2 separate regions of the Homo sapiens genome follow, and region 1 is linked to region 2. The links are contacts of gene promoters, found by promoter capture Hi-C in blood cells and fetal thymus (Javierre and others, 2016). All regions are on one chromosome and are shown on one strand. The core of a region is centred on a gene start or on the middle of the fragment in contact, and the rest is flanking DNA. Distances in the headings are between cores, read along the strand shown. Region 1 holds the start of RNASE3 (ribonuclease A family member 3). Region 2 holds the start of PNP (purine nucleoside phosphorylase).

Region 1 (5,994 bases), core at 2,830-5,329, 420 kb after region 2:
GGCTTAATGGGTACAAATATAAGAAATGATATAAAAAATAAGACCTGGTGTTTGATAGATCAGGAGGACGATTATAGTTAGTGATAATCTACTGTGCACTTCAAAATAGCTAGAAGAGAATAATTTGAATGTTTCTAACGTAAAGAAGCAGCAAATATTTAAGGTAATGGTTATCCCAATTTCCCTGATGTGATCTTTACATATTATACGAATGTATTAAATTATCACATGTACCCTGAAAATATGTACCCCTATTCTGTATCAATAAACAGAAATAAGGCCAGGTGCAGTGGCTTATGCCTATAATCCAATTATTTTGGAGGTCGAGGCATGCAAATCACCTGAGGTCAGGAGTTCAAGACCAGACTGGCCAACTTGGTGAAACCCTGTCTCTACAAAAATACAAAAATTAGCTGGGTGTGGTGGTGCACACCAGTAGTCCCAGCTGCTCGGGAGGCTGAGAAAGGAGAATCCTTTGAACCCAAGAGGCGGAATTAGAAGTGAGCCGAGATCGCGCCACTGCACTCCAGCCTGGGAGATAGAGTGAGATTTCATCTCAAAAAAAAAAAAGAAAAAAAAAGAAATATTTTTAAAATATGCAATGGTACATGAATGCAATTTTCCAGTTTCCTAGGAAACACCCTTTCTTTCATCCCTCCTAAGACACACCTCTCCATAATTCCACCTGAGCTCTGTTTCCATTTCTTCCCTTTCCAGATAGGGAAAGAACTTCTTATAGTTGAGGAAAAAGAAGAAAGGCTTAGTCCTTTCCTCTTTCATGCCAGAAACTTGATCAAAGGTGTCAGATCTACTTATTCAATGGTTTTCAGAGGAGACATGCAGGAGGACCCACACAAGAAGGAAGGCCTAGGGCCACCTTTCTGAGGTTCAAGAGACCAGGAAGAGCTCAGTACACCAACTATCTTTAGAACTTAGGTAAGTAAAATATTACTCCATTTGCTGCAATTTAATTAACCTGCACCATATTATTATGACAATCTTGTATTACTTTTAATGGCAAAAATCGCAATTACTTTTGCACCAACCTAGTAAATAGTGTGCATTGTCTTTCCCATAGATAGCCACTGCTGCATTAGGGAAATCTGTGTGCAGGAAGGTATCGATGGTTTGGTACCTCCCTGTCAGCAGGTTAAGAGCAAATATTGCAAGGGTACCCTGGGGCTGAAGAAATTGCAAGCATTGAACATTATATTTTTGCACATAAATGCTATGCAAAAAAGACATTGATCAATGCAGTGTACTCAACAGTGGTTTTTACCACAAATGCAGAAGTCTTTGTCTGGGATAATATTTTACAATGTTCATCGGTTTCCAAAAAATGACTTAACACTAGGGCGTAATTCTGACTATTCCTCTCATTGGAAGTGTGGATCAGGTCTGAAAATGTGTCGTTAAATTAGGCTGCAAGACAAGTTATGCTAATAAAATAAAGAGCCCGGGTGAAGTGCCTTGTGTCTGTTCAAGACAAAATCATGCTGAAGTTACAGAGAATTTTGTTTCGATTACAGAGATCATAACAGATAATTTTCTTTAATGTTGACTTATACTTTATTCCTGCTTCATATAAAACATCTTCTCTCAAAGGTCATAAATATCAAAGTAGATCATTTGTACTACTTCTGCTGGCAAATGAAGGTAGTTGGAAATGTACGCAGGAAATCTACACAAGGGACAATCAGAAAAACCTTATGAGCATGTTCTGAATGCAATTTTTATGGCTGGGAGCAGTGGCTCATACTTGTAATCCCATCACTTTGGAAGGCCGAGGTGGGCGCATTACCTGAGGTCAGGAGTTTGAGACCAGCCTGGCCAACATGGTGAAACCCCGTCTCTACTAAAAATACAAAAATTAGGCGGGCATTGTGTCGAGCGCCTGTAATCCCAGCTACTCAGGAGGCTGAGGCAGGAGAATCACTTGAACTTGGGAGGCGGAGGTGGAGGTTGCAGTGAGATCACGCCACTGCAGTCCAGCCTGGGTGACAAGAGCAAGACTCCGTCTCAAAAAAAAACAAAAAACAAAAAACTCCACAATTTTAAAGGATGAATATGGTTGCAAATTGGGCAGGTTATGGTCTGCTTAAGACACTTCAATAAGTCTGATATGTCATAAGCACAGATGTCTTCAGGAGCCAGGCAGGTGTCATCACTGAACAGATAGGATAAAAGTCAGGAGGGAGAGTGGAGTCAGAGAACAGCCCTGAGCTAGAGCCCCTTCCACAGACGCAGCTGTTACTCAGCTCTAATTGATACAACACCAATGGTGCACCAACCACCATCATGTGATTTTTAAAGATAAGACAGTAATGAAAACTTTTAGTGAACTATTCCAATGTCAAACTTTATCTTCCAAACCAAACATCATAAATAGCACTGTGTATGCTGAAAAGAAGCACTGTTTAGCCAAGTACCTGCCCTGGGGCTGCAGTCTATGTCTTTTGCCTCATACTATAGACACTTAAGTGCAAATGTTTCTAGCCAGTGTGGCTGTCAGCATCACAGAGGGGATACTCTACGTATCATTCACCTTTACATTCTCATCACCTACAAAAATGATCTCCACACAATATACATGAAAAAATAAACTTGCCTCATGATAAAGCTGCTAATGAATGTCGGCCAGAACAGGACTTCAAGGCAGAGCAATATTAGCTGCGCATTGAGTCCTCACCAGGTCACCATTGTGTCCACATTTACCTAAGGACCCCAGTGATAAAATTATTGCATTTCTAAATGACAGGAAAATTGGACGGTAGTAAAAATTAGGCAGATTAACTGTTGGAAGGTATATTATATCATTTAAGGGTCTACTTTCCATTTTCTAATCTCAAAGCTAGACCAGATTTAACATCTGTTAGTACCCAGGCCTTACCTTTGCAATTCACTTCTCACCTCTGTACAATTTCCCCACATCATCCCCTGTGCCCAGAATGCTCATCTCTTCTCTAAATCCCCTGAAAATCCCCTGCTTATCCTTTAGGACCTGCTGAAATAAACTTTTTTTTGAAGTTTTCCTTATTTCTCAAGCCAAGTGATTTCCTTCACCAGCAGTGTCCCTATGACACCATGTTCACACAAATGCTATTACCTCTATCACACTGTAATACAATTATATGTCTACAAGTACTTTCCTGTGTTTCTCTGAGGGCCAAGAATAAATGTATGCTTTGTGTATCAAACTGTACACTTGACCTCTATACTTTCAGGAATACAGTGCTCTGTCCTTAAATGTTCATTTGTAAATACAGAACCATATTCTTGTTAATATCACAAAATGAAACTTACCAGGAAGATGAATGACAACCCCAGAACACACTGTTTTGTAGAAAATACCATAGGCTGAAAAGATCACAGGAATACCGAGTGCTAGGTTGGAATCTTTCATGACACCAAATGTTCATTCATCCTCTGCCAGATTTTACAACTGTCCTCGGTGTGTTTTTAGGTTATGTAACTTTACACAAAGTGGAATCAATAATCAGGGCAAGACTTAAGAGAAAGTGGATCCAATGCAAGAGGAGTAAAGAAAAAAATTCCTCAATTGTATGGAGCAGATTGTTTTAATTATCTACAGAATCTTGTGCCCCAAGAAATTAATAGCTCAAGTTTCCAGCAAGAGTGGTGGATGAGATGGAGAGCATTTATGTGAGAGAGAACCAAGGATATTACTAAAAATGGAAGGGAAGCTGGGTTTCTCCTGGGCAAACAGCCCTCTGTGGCTCTATTTCTCCTAACTACTATGCCTGCCTTCGTGTCATTTAGTCATTTAGGGGCCTGCCAGAGGACAGTTATAAAATCTGTGGTCATTCTGCCGGCAGCGTATAGTTTTCACCCAGAGTCCAGATCCCACCGGCAAAACTCTGTCTAACACAGGATGACTTGGAATTAGAGTCCGTATAGCAGAAAGAGCAGCAGGGCTGTCCTTGGGTATCCGTTGCTCAGCCAAGTCATCAAATAAAAAGGATGATTGCACAAGTGGACCATGTGTCAATCTGTGGGTTTCTGCATGGCCAGACCCACCAAGGGAAGCTTTATTTAAACAGTTCCAAGTAGGGGAGACCAGCTGCCCCTGAACCCCAGAACAACCAGCTGGATCAGTTCTCACAGGAGCCACAGCTCAGAGACTGGGTAAGTCAACAATCCCCAGAGCTGGGACAGGAGGGGCAGCGACAGGGCAGCACCTGAGGGAGAGGTGAGCTGAAGTTAGTGCTTAGGAGATGTGGCACACTTTGGGGACAGGAAGAAAAGGAAATGCGACCCCAGAGTGGCAGCAGAGGGGCCTGTGGGTTGAGACACTATAGAGTGTGTCATAACCGAGACCGGATCGGGGAGTAGTTACTTCTCTTCTTTTCTTACAGGAAACATGGTTCCAAAACTGTTCACTTCCCAAATTTGTCTGCTTCTTCTGTTGGGGCTTATGGGTGTGGAGGGCTCACTCCATGCCAGACCCCCACAGTTTACGAGGGCTCAGTGGTTTGCCATCCAGCACATCAGTCTGAACCCCCCTCGATGCACCATTGCAATGCGGGCAATTAACAATTATCGATGGCGTTGCAAAAACCAAAATACTTTTCTTCGTACAACTTTTGCTAATGTAGTTAATGTTTGTGGTAACCAAAGTATACGCTGCCCTCATAACAGAACTCTCAACAATTGTCATCGGAGTAGATTCCGGGTGCCTTTACTCCACTGTGACCTCATAAATCCAGGTGCACAGAATATTTCAAACTGCACGTATGCAGACAGACCAGGAAGGAGGTTCTATGTAGTTGCATGTGACAACAGAGATCCACGGGATTCTCCACGGTATCCTGTGGTTCCAGTTCACCTGGATACCACCATCTAAGCTCCTGTATCAGCAGTCCTCATCATCACTCATCTGCCAAGCTCCTCAATCATAGCCAAGATCCCATCCCTCCATGTACTCTGGGTATCAGCAACTGTCCTCATCAGTCTCCATACCCCTTCAGCTTTCCTGAGCTGAAGTCCCTTGTGAACCCTGCAATAAACTGCTTTGCAAATTCATCTGGAAGTGTCTGTGTGTCTTCCTCGGCCGCTCTGCTGTCATTTAGTGACAATCTGCTCTAGAGATTTGGGTTTATCATGAATCTCTCCCCCTCAATATCTGACCAAATTCCTTAATTCCCCCATCATCCTTCATGTGATACCTGATTCCAGGCCTGCCTTAAAAAAAAATCCAATTGAGTCAACTTAGCATTGGTCTCCCTAGCCTTAATATCTCCTCTAAGCAATTTTCCATCCACTGACTCCTCCCCCAACACCAACCTATAACTTGTGTATAGATCTCCACTTGTTTTAGTTGTATTCCAGAATTGAGCCCAATTTGATATTGAGGTCCCATTTGATGCTTTATGGTCCGACTATGGTTTTTATTGACATGATTTCTATCCCAAGAAAAAAAGAGCTGCAGTGAATCAGCTGAAAATGCACGTGCTTCATTATGATTTATGAATGATAAATTTTGATAGAATTGAACGTTATGATAGAAAATAGAAAAGAAGAAAGTAGAAAAAGTCAAGAATGCTATAAATAAGGTGAAACCAAGATAAAGAAAAGTTTAGCCTCAGGGATATTTCTTTTAAATGGGCACATCAAGTCTCCAGCTATTAGCAATCGTAATAGAGGTGGAACCAGGGTTTGAGTCAAATGTGCAATAAGATAAATTGTTCCGACAGCAGTAAGGACAGATTGTAATGCTGACTGGAGGAGAGGTGGACATCTTTCCCAAAAGTTCCATGTCCTGGAGATGGGGAGCCGCTGGTCACGTGGGAAGGAGAAGGGGGAGGAGGAGGAGGAGGAAGTGGGAGCACTCATGAAGGTGAGTTGGCTCCTGCCCATTCTGCCCTCCATAGATGTTCCCAATGGCGAGTCAAAGGTTCATTCAACACCTGTCAGGAAGGGCACAGCCTCGAGAATTCAGGATTTGTAGACCCAGAGAGAGAAGAAATGGATGAT
Region 2 (6,043 bases), core at 2,168-4,667:
TAGGCGAATGCGGTGGTGCGTGCCTGTAGTCCTAGCTACTTGGGAGGCAGAGGAAAGAGGATCGCTTGAGCCTAGGAGATTGAGGCTGCAGTGAGCTGAGATTGAGCCACTACACTCCAGCCTGGGTGGCAGAGCGAGACCCTATCTAAAAACAAACAAACAAACAACAACAAAAAAAAAACAGGGAAAAACCCTAAAATGTTTTAATTTCAGTAATTGGAGAAAATGGAAGACCAAAGATTATGGTGATAAGGGGAGTAGATATTTTATTTTATTTTTTGAGATAGGGTCTCACTCTGTCACTCAGACTGGAGTGCAGTGGCTCCATCACAGCTCACTGCAGCCTTGACTTCCTGGGCTCAGGTGATTCTCCTGCCTCAGCCTCCCTAGTAGCTGGGACCACAGATGCCACCACACCTGGCTAATTTTTGTATTTTTTGTAGAGATGAGACTTCACCATGTTGCTCAGGCTGGTCTCAAACTCCTGGGCTCAAGTAATCCTCCTGTCTTGGCTTCCCAAAGTGCTGGGATTACAGGTCTGAGGCACTGTGCCTGGCCAGGGATAGATATTTTTAAAACCGCATATTTAGCTTGTGATCTAGAGAGAATAAGAGATCTCAGTTGAGAGGGCAGGAATAAAATACGTTCCACAAGGCAATACTGAGTGACTTAGAACCTATTCCTGCCACTTTTTTTTAGTTTCCTTGATCTTGCGGGTGGAGGGTAAGTGTGTTACTAAGTATGTTCCTGGACAAGGAGTCCCTCTGAAGATAGAAGTGATGAGAAGATAGAAGAAAAGGTAATAAGGCATTAATGAACTCTAATCACACTAAGATTGATGATCGTCTGGTTCCTGTCTATAGGAATGCTACAGGAACTCTTTTACCCTAAAAGTAAATAATAAAGCACAGTTCCAGTTTCTTTTATGTGGATACAAGGTGGCAGTGACTAGAAAAGATAAGAACAGTGCTGTGCTCTAGCATAAAAACGTAATTATGCTATGCAATATGGTAGCCACTAACCACATGTGACTATCGAGAAGTTACAATGTAATTAGTATGATTAGGTAACTGAATTATTTTTATTATATTTCATCTTAATTAATTTTATTACTTTTAAATAGCCACACATGGCTAGTGCCTTCTGTTTTGAACAGTGTGGGATTCATTGGTATTGATAGGCTGGATATACCTCTAGTTTTTATTTTGATTCAATTTATGGTTAGGTGAGTCTAGAAAGAACAAAAGAGAAAGAGACAATGGAGATTAATCATAATAGCCAGCATTTAATGTGTGCTTATTATATATCCAGGCATTTACCTAAACATGTAAAAGGTATTCTGTATAATCCTTGCAAAAATACTAAGATTATTGCTATTTTACAGATGAAAAAATTGAAGCATAATAAGAATTTTACTTGCCTAGAATCACACGAGTAAATAAGGGGTGAAGATGGCATTCATACACAGGTAGTTTTATTAGAGCCCATTCATTTACACTACATAGATTCAGGAATGAGGTGGCATGGAGTGACTGGGGCCATGGTTCCCAAACTGTGCCAAAGTACAAGCTCACAAGGGTATTGTGGAATATTTTTAATTTTCAGAGGAAACACAGCAATATTTTATATTTCTTAAACACTGTGTGACCTATTAACTTGAGGTGATTCACAGTTGGAACATTAGATTGTGCTACATTCCTTTTGATGACAATATATCTGGCCAGGTGTGGTAGCTCATGCCTATACTCTCAGCACTTTGAGAGGCCGAGGTGGGCAGATCAGTTGAAGTCAGGAGTTCAAGGCCAGCTTGGCCAATATGGCAAAACCCCGTCTCTACTAAAAATACAAAAATTAGCCAGGCATGGTGGCAGGCACCTGTAATCCCAGCTACTCGGGAGGCTGAGGCAAAAGAATGGCTCAAACCCAGGCAGCAGAGATTGCAGTGAGGCAAGATCGTGCTACTGTACTCCAGCCTGGGTTACAGAGTGAAACCCTGTCTCAAAAATATATATATATATAAAGACAACATATCTTTACAAAAGATGGTTTTAGAAGGTCCCTCTGATAAAAATTAAGTATTAAGTAAAAAAAAAAAGTACTGTGTAAAAATCAGCATGGAACAGAAAATGAGGGTGGCAGCATTGGATTCCTGCATGTGAGAAGTTGAGTAGTGCCAAACAGATGTACATATCCCGTAAGTAACTGTTTGTGGTTATTTAAGAACGAAATTTTTTTTTCAATTTGTGTGCATTGTTATTTTCAAAGTGCTAGTAAGTTCTCAGGAACCAGCTACTCACTCTGTTGCCCAGGCTGGAGTGCAATGGTGTGATCTCAGGTCACTGCAACCTCCACCTCCCGGGTTCAAGCCATTCTCCCTGCCTCAGCCTCCCAAGTAGCTGGGATTACAGGCGCCTGCCACCACGCCCAGCTAATTTTTTGTATTTTTAGTACAGATGGGGTTTTGCCTTGTTGGCCAGGCTGGTCTCCGACACCTGACCTCAGGTGATCCACCCACCTCGGCCTCCCAAAGTGCTGGGATTACCGGCGTGAGCCACCGCGCCTGGCCTTTATATATAAATTTTTTTTTAATTTTTTAAATTAAAAATTAAATGTAAATTTAATGTAAAAATGTAAATTAAATGTAAAAATTAAATTGTAAATGTGGGCAGAAGTAATAGTTGTATTCTACCAAAGACACGCTATTTATGTTATATTCTGGTACCCGTGTATTCCGATAACAGAATTTTCTTCGTGGGAGGAGTCCTCTAGTTACCTGAATTGCTTGGATCAATATTGCGCAGATCAAGGGATTATCTGTGTCCCTACCCACCAAATCCATCCTTATCCTTTCTGTCGGCATCTAGGACCCCGGAATTCTTGCCTGAGAACTTTTTCTTCTCCCGGTCTGGGCCTGGATGTGCTCTCCTAAACCCTGTATCCTCCAAGTTAGCACTGTTGCCGGGGGCGACCCAGCTTCCCTTGTCCAGGGAGCAACTCAGACACAGTCTCGCTTCATTTTTATTCTGGGGTTGTACAATCTAAGGTATGAAATTTTTCCTTTTTGAATCTCTCACGGTTTGCTATTGACACAGCTGGAATGAGGTTGCAAGGAGAGGGCTGGGGGCTCTCCTCCCTACTTCTAGCCCTATTTCCGCATAGGCCTTCTTGCTGGGAACTCCTGCCCTGCGGACTGGAATGGGTACCGAGATGAAATGCTGGGTGCGCTCCGGCTCCCCCCGCCCGCCCCGGGGCAGAAGGTTTAGGGCTGGGAAGAACTCTGATTAGGTTTACAGCCCAGGTTCAGCCGATTGAATTAGGGTGTGTCACCATGGAGACAGGGCCGGCCCGCGTGCTCGCTTGCCATTGGCTGGGGACTCCAGGGCAAGGGATATAAGCCAGAGCCTAGACCAGTGAGCCAACTGTGCGAACCAGACCCGGCAGCCTTGCTCAGTTCAGCATAGCGGAGCGGATCCGATCGGATCGGAGCGGATCGGAGCACACCGGAGCAGGCTCATCGAGAAGGCGTCTGCGAGACCATGGAGAACGGGTGAGGAGGGCACCAGGCCCGCAGGACCCTTGGGGAGGGGCAGGTGCTGTGACCCGGGAACCTGGCACACTGGGCCCAGAGGGAGCTGGCGGAGGGAGCGAGCGCCCAGGGGATGCAGAGAGGCCTGGCACTGAGCCTAGTGTCGGGAGCAAGGCGGCAGAGTCATGCGGCAGCCAGCGCGGGCAGGGACGCACGCGGGAATCGAGCTGGGGTGGCGCCACCGGAGCAGGAAGGGGACAGGTCGGTGCGGTCTAAGCTACTCCGTAAAAGCAGCCGTTGTGTGTCTCCGTGTGTGTGTTAGGGGAACAAGTGGAGAGTGAGTATATGTATATATCCCTCACTCCATACCAGGAGGAGGTCTCCTCACCCCCTGCGCTCTTCATAAATTCCCATGCTAGGGTCTGGGTAAAGCTGCGAGGTACTTTTGGTGCTCAAATTCGGAGTTCCTCCTTTAGAGGCAAGATTACTCACCTCCTTTGCCAGTTGCACTCCTCCCTTCCTTCCAGACTGGCAGTATGATTAACTCGGTGGGAAGTGACTGCTAAGTGGAGACGGAAATCAGTCACCGAACTGAGCAACAGTCCTGTGCTCACTTCCCCCACCCCACGCCTTTGAAAACTCTTCTCTCGGCTTGGGTCCTGGATATCCCAGTCCAAGTGACCTGCATTAGGCATCACAGTTGCTTTTGGATGCCCAGGGAGCCAGGGTGTTCTTGAGGGGACTGATAGCCAATGAGGAAGTGCTGTGAGATGTGGCTAGACATGCCATGTGGCGGCAGCTTCACACATTCATTTCCTTTGCACCTTTTGGGGATGCCATTTGATTAACATTTTACCAGCTTAATTGCTTCTCTCCATTGTCCTGTGGCTCCGTTGACCAGCCCCCAACCTACCTGATCCAACTGCTTCCCTGAGGGTAGCCTGGTGTATTGTGCAATCATGTCTGGTTTCCCGGGCTCTGCTTTCCAAGTAAAAAATTTCCTGTGAAAGCTTGGTTAGTTGTGTTCAGCTCTGTCACACCTCATTGCCACCTCTGAAAGCAACGTTTGGTCTTCCCAGATGGATGTGAGAGAACTGGACTTGGAACTGGGAGAAAAGTAACACGGGTTGATTCTTGCTAGTGTAGGGGTTCTGGGTAAGTGCCCTGAGGTTTCTGAAGAGCAAAGATCCTCGGTGGAGAGAAAGGAAACTGGGAGGAGGCAGGGAGGGGGAAGGACAGGAAGAAGACCACAGGCAGGTGGAAAGCAGGAGAAAGATTCAAATACTTTGTGTAACAGAGCCATAGGTCTTTGGAAGTTGTTAGCAAGTATTCAATTCATTTTCAGATTGAGCCTATAAGATAGATGGGGCCAATTTACATCCCTTGTTTATACCTGAGAAAATAATTTAAAGCACAAATTACATGCCTAAAAAGACAATATTGGGACTAGAATCTAGGTCGAATTCTGCTTCCCTCCAGACCAGCAATTCCTAAACCTGGTTTTATTTTATTTTATTTTTATTTATTTATTTTGGAGTCGGAGTCTCGCTCTGTCTCCCAGGCTGGAGTTCAGTGGAGCGATCTTGGCTCACTGCAACCTCTGCCTCCCGGGTTCACACCATTCTACTGCCTCAGCCTCCCGTGTAGCTAGGACTACAGGGGCCCGCCACCACGCCCGGCTAATTTTTTTTTTTTTTTTTTTTTTTTTGTATTTTTAGTAGAGACGGGGTTTCAACATGTTAGCCAGGATGGTCTCGATCTCCTGACCTCGTGATCCGCCCACCTCGGCCTCCCAAAGTGCTGGGGTTACAGGCATGAGCCACCGCGCCCAGCCCCTAAACCTGGTTTTAAAATCAAAATTACATGGGCTTCAGAATCTGTTTTTTGTGGGGGTTTTGTGTGTGTGTGTGTGTGTGTTTTTTATAGGGTCTCACTCTGTCACCAGGCTGGAGTGCCAGAATCTGTTTTTCTAACAAGCTTCTGCTGAGAATTTGTGTAGTCAGTCCTGGTTTAACCTTTGACAACCAGTACTGTGGACTGGGTCTGCTTTTTTGTACAGCAGTTTATCTAGTTTTTTGTCTGGAATTAACCCCCTTGTGATCCAGGGAGCTAAGAATGGCACGTAGACCTCTACCAGGGGTGGTCCCATTGTGTTTTATTGGTTAAAACAAAAAAGAAATGTAGCCCTTAAGTCTTTGGCTGAGGAAGGAACTGGAGGAATGAGGGTTCAAAAGGAAATTTGAGTTTATCTCTGCCTTCATAGTAGTTGGTCTTAATTACATTTTGAATGTCTTTGGGGAACAGGTAAGGTAATAAGGGGGATTTTACTAGGTGGGCACCACCCTCAGGAAGGGCTTAATCCCATTTTGAGTACTCTTCTTGGGCTCCCTCCTGGCCAAGCCCTTTTACCCTCCCTAATTTGATTATTTCCTTGCACTTCCCCGTACACTCTGGCCCCTTCCTCTCTAAACCTTTGTCATAAGGATAAGTATGCAGCTTGCCAGTGTTCAGTGGATC

The links. Contacts are between HindIII fragments. The CHiCAGO score rates a contact against its expected background, and 5 or more counts as called.
Region 1: the fragment with the promoter of RNASE3 here is called in contact with the fragment with the promoter of PNP in region 2 in 3 of 17 cell types (neutrophils, M0 macrophages and monocytes); the score reaches 9.6 in neutrophils.

Annotation. Positions count from the first base shown.
Region 1 is chr14:20,887,306-20,893,299 of GRCh38, forward strand. RNASE3 (ribonuclease A family member 3) reads left to right here and starts at 4,080. Exons shown (of 2, transcript NM_002935.3): 1 at 4,080-4,146; 2 at 4,377-5,043. The coding sequence starts at 4,382. The coding sequence ends at 4,864. The region is part of intron 1 of LOC100507513 (a long non-coding RNA gene); the gene reads right to left. The HindIII fragment of the contact is 4,045 bases long and covers 4,046-5,994 here.
Region 2 is chr14:20,465,989-20,472,031 of GRCh38, forward strand. PNP (purine nucleoside phosphorylase) reads left to right here and starts at 3,418. Exons shown (of 6, transcript NM_000270.4): 1 at 3,418-3,547. The coding sequence starts at 3,537. RefSeq lists enhancers at 3,185-3,689, 3,880-3,949, 3,980-4,109 and a silencer at 3,350-3,469. The HindIII fragment of the contact is 7,340 bases long and covers 1-4,534 here.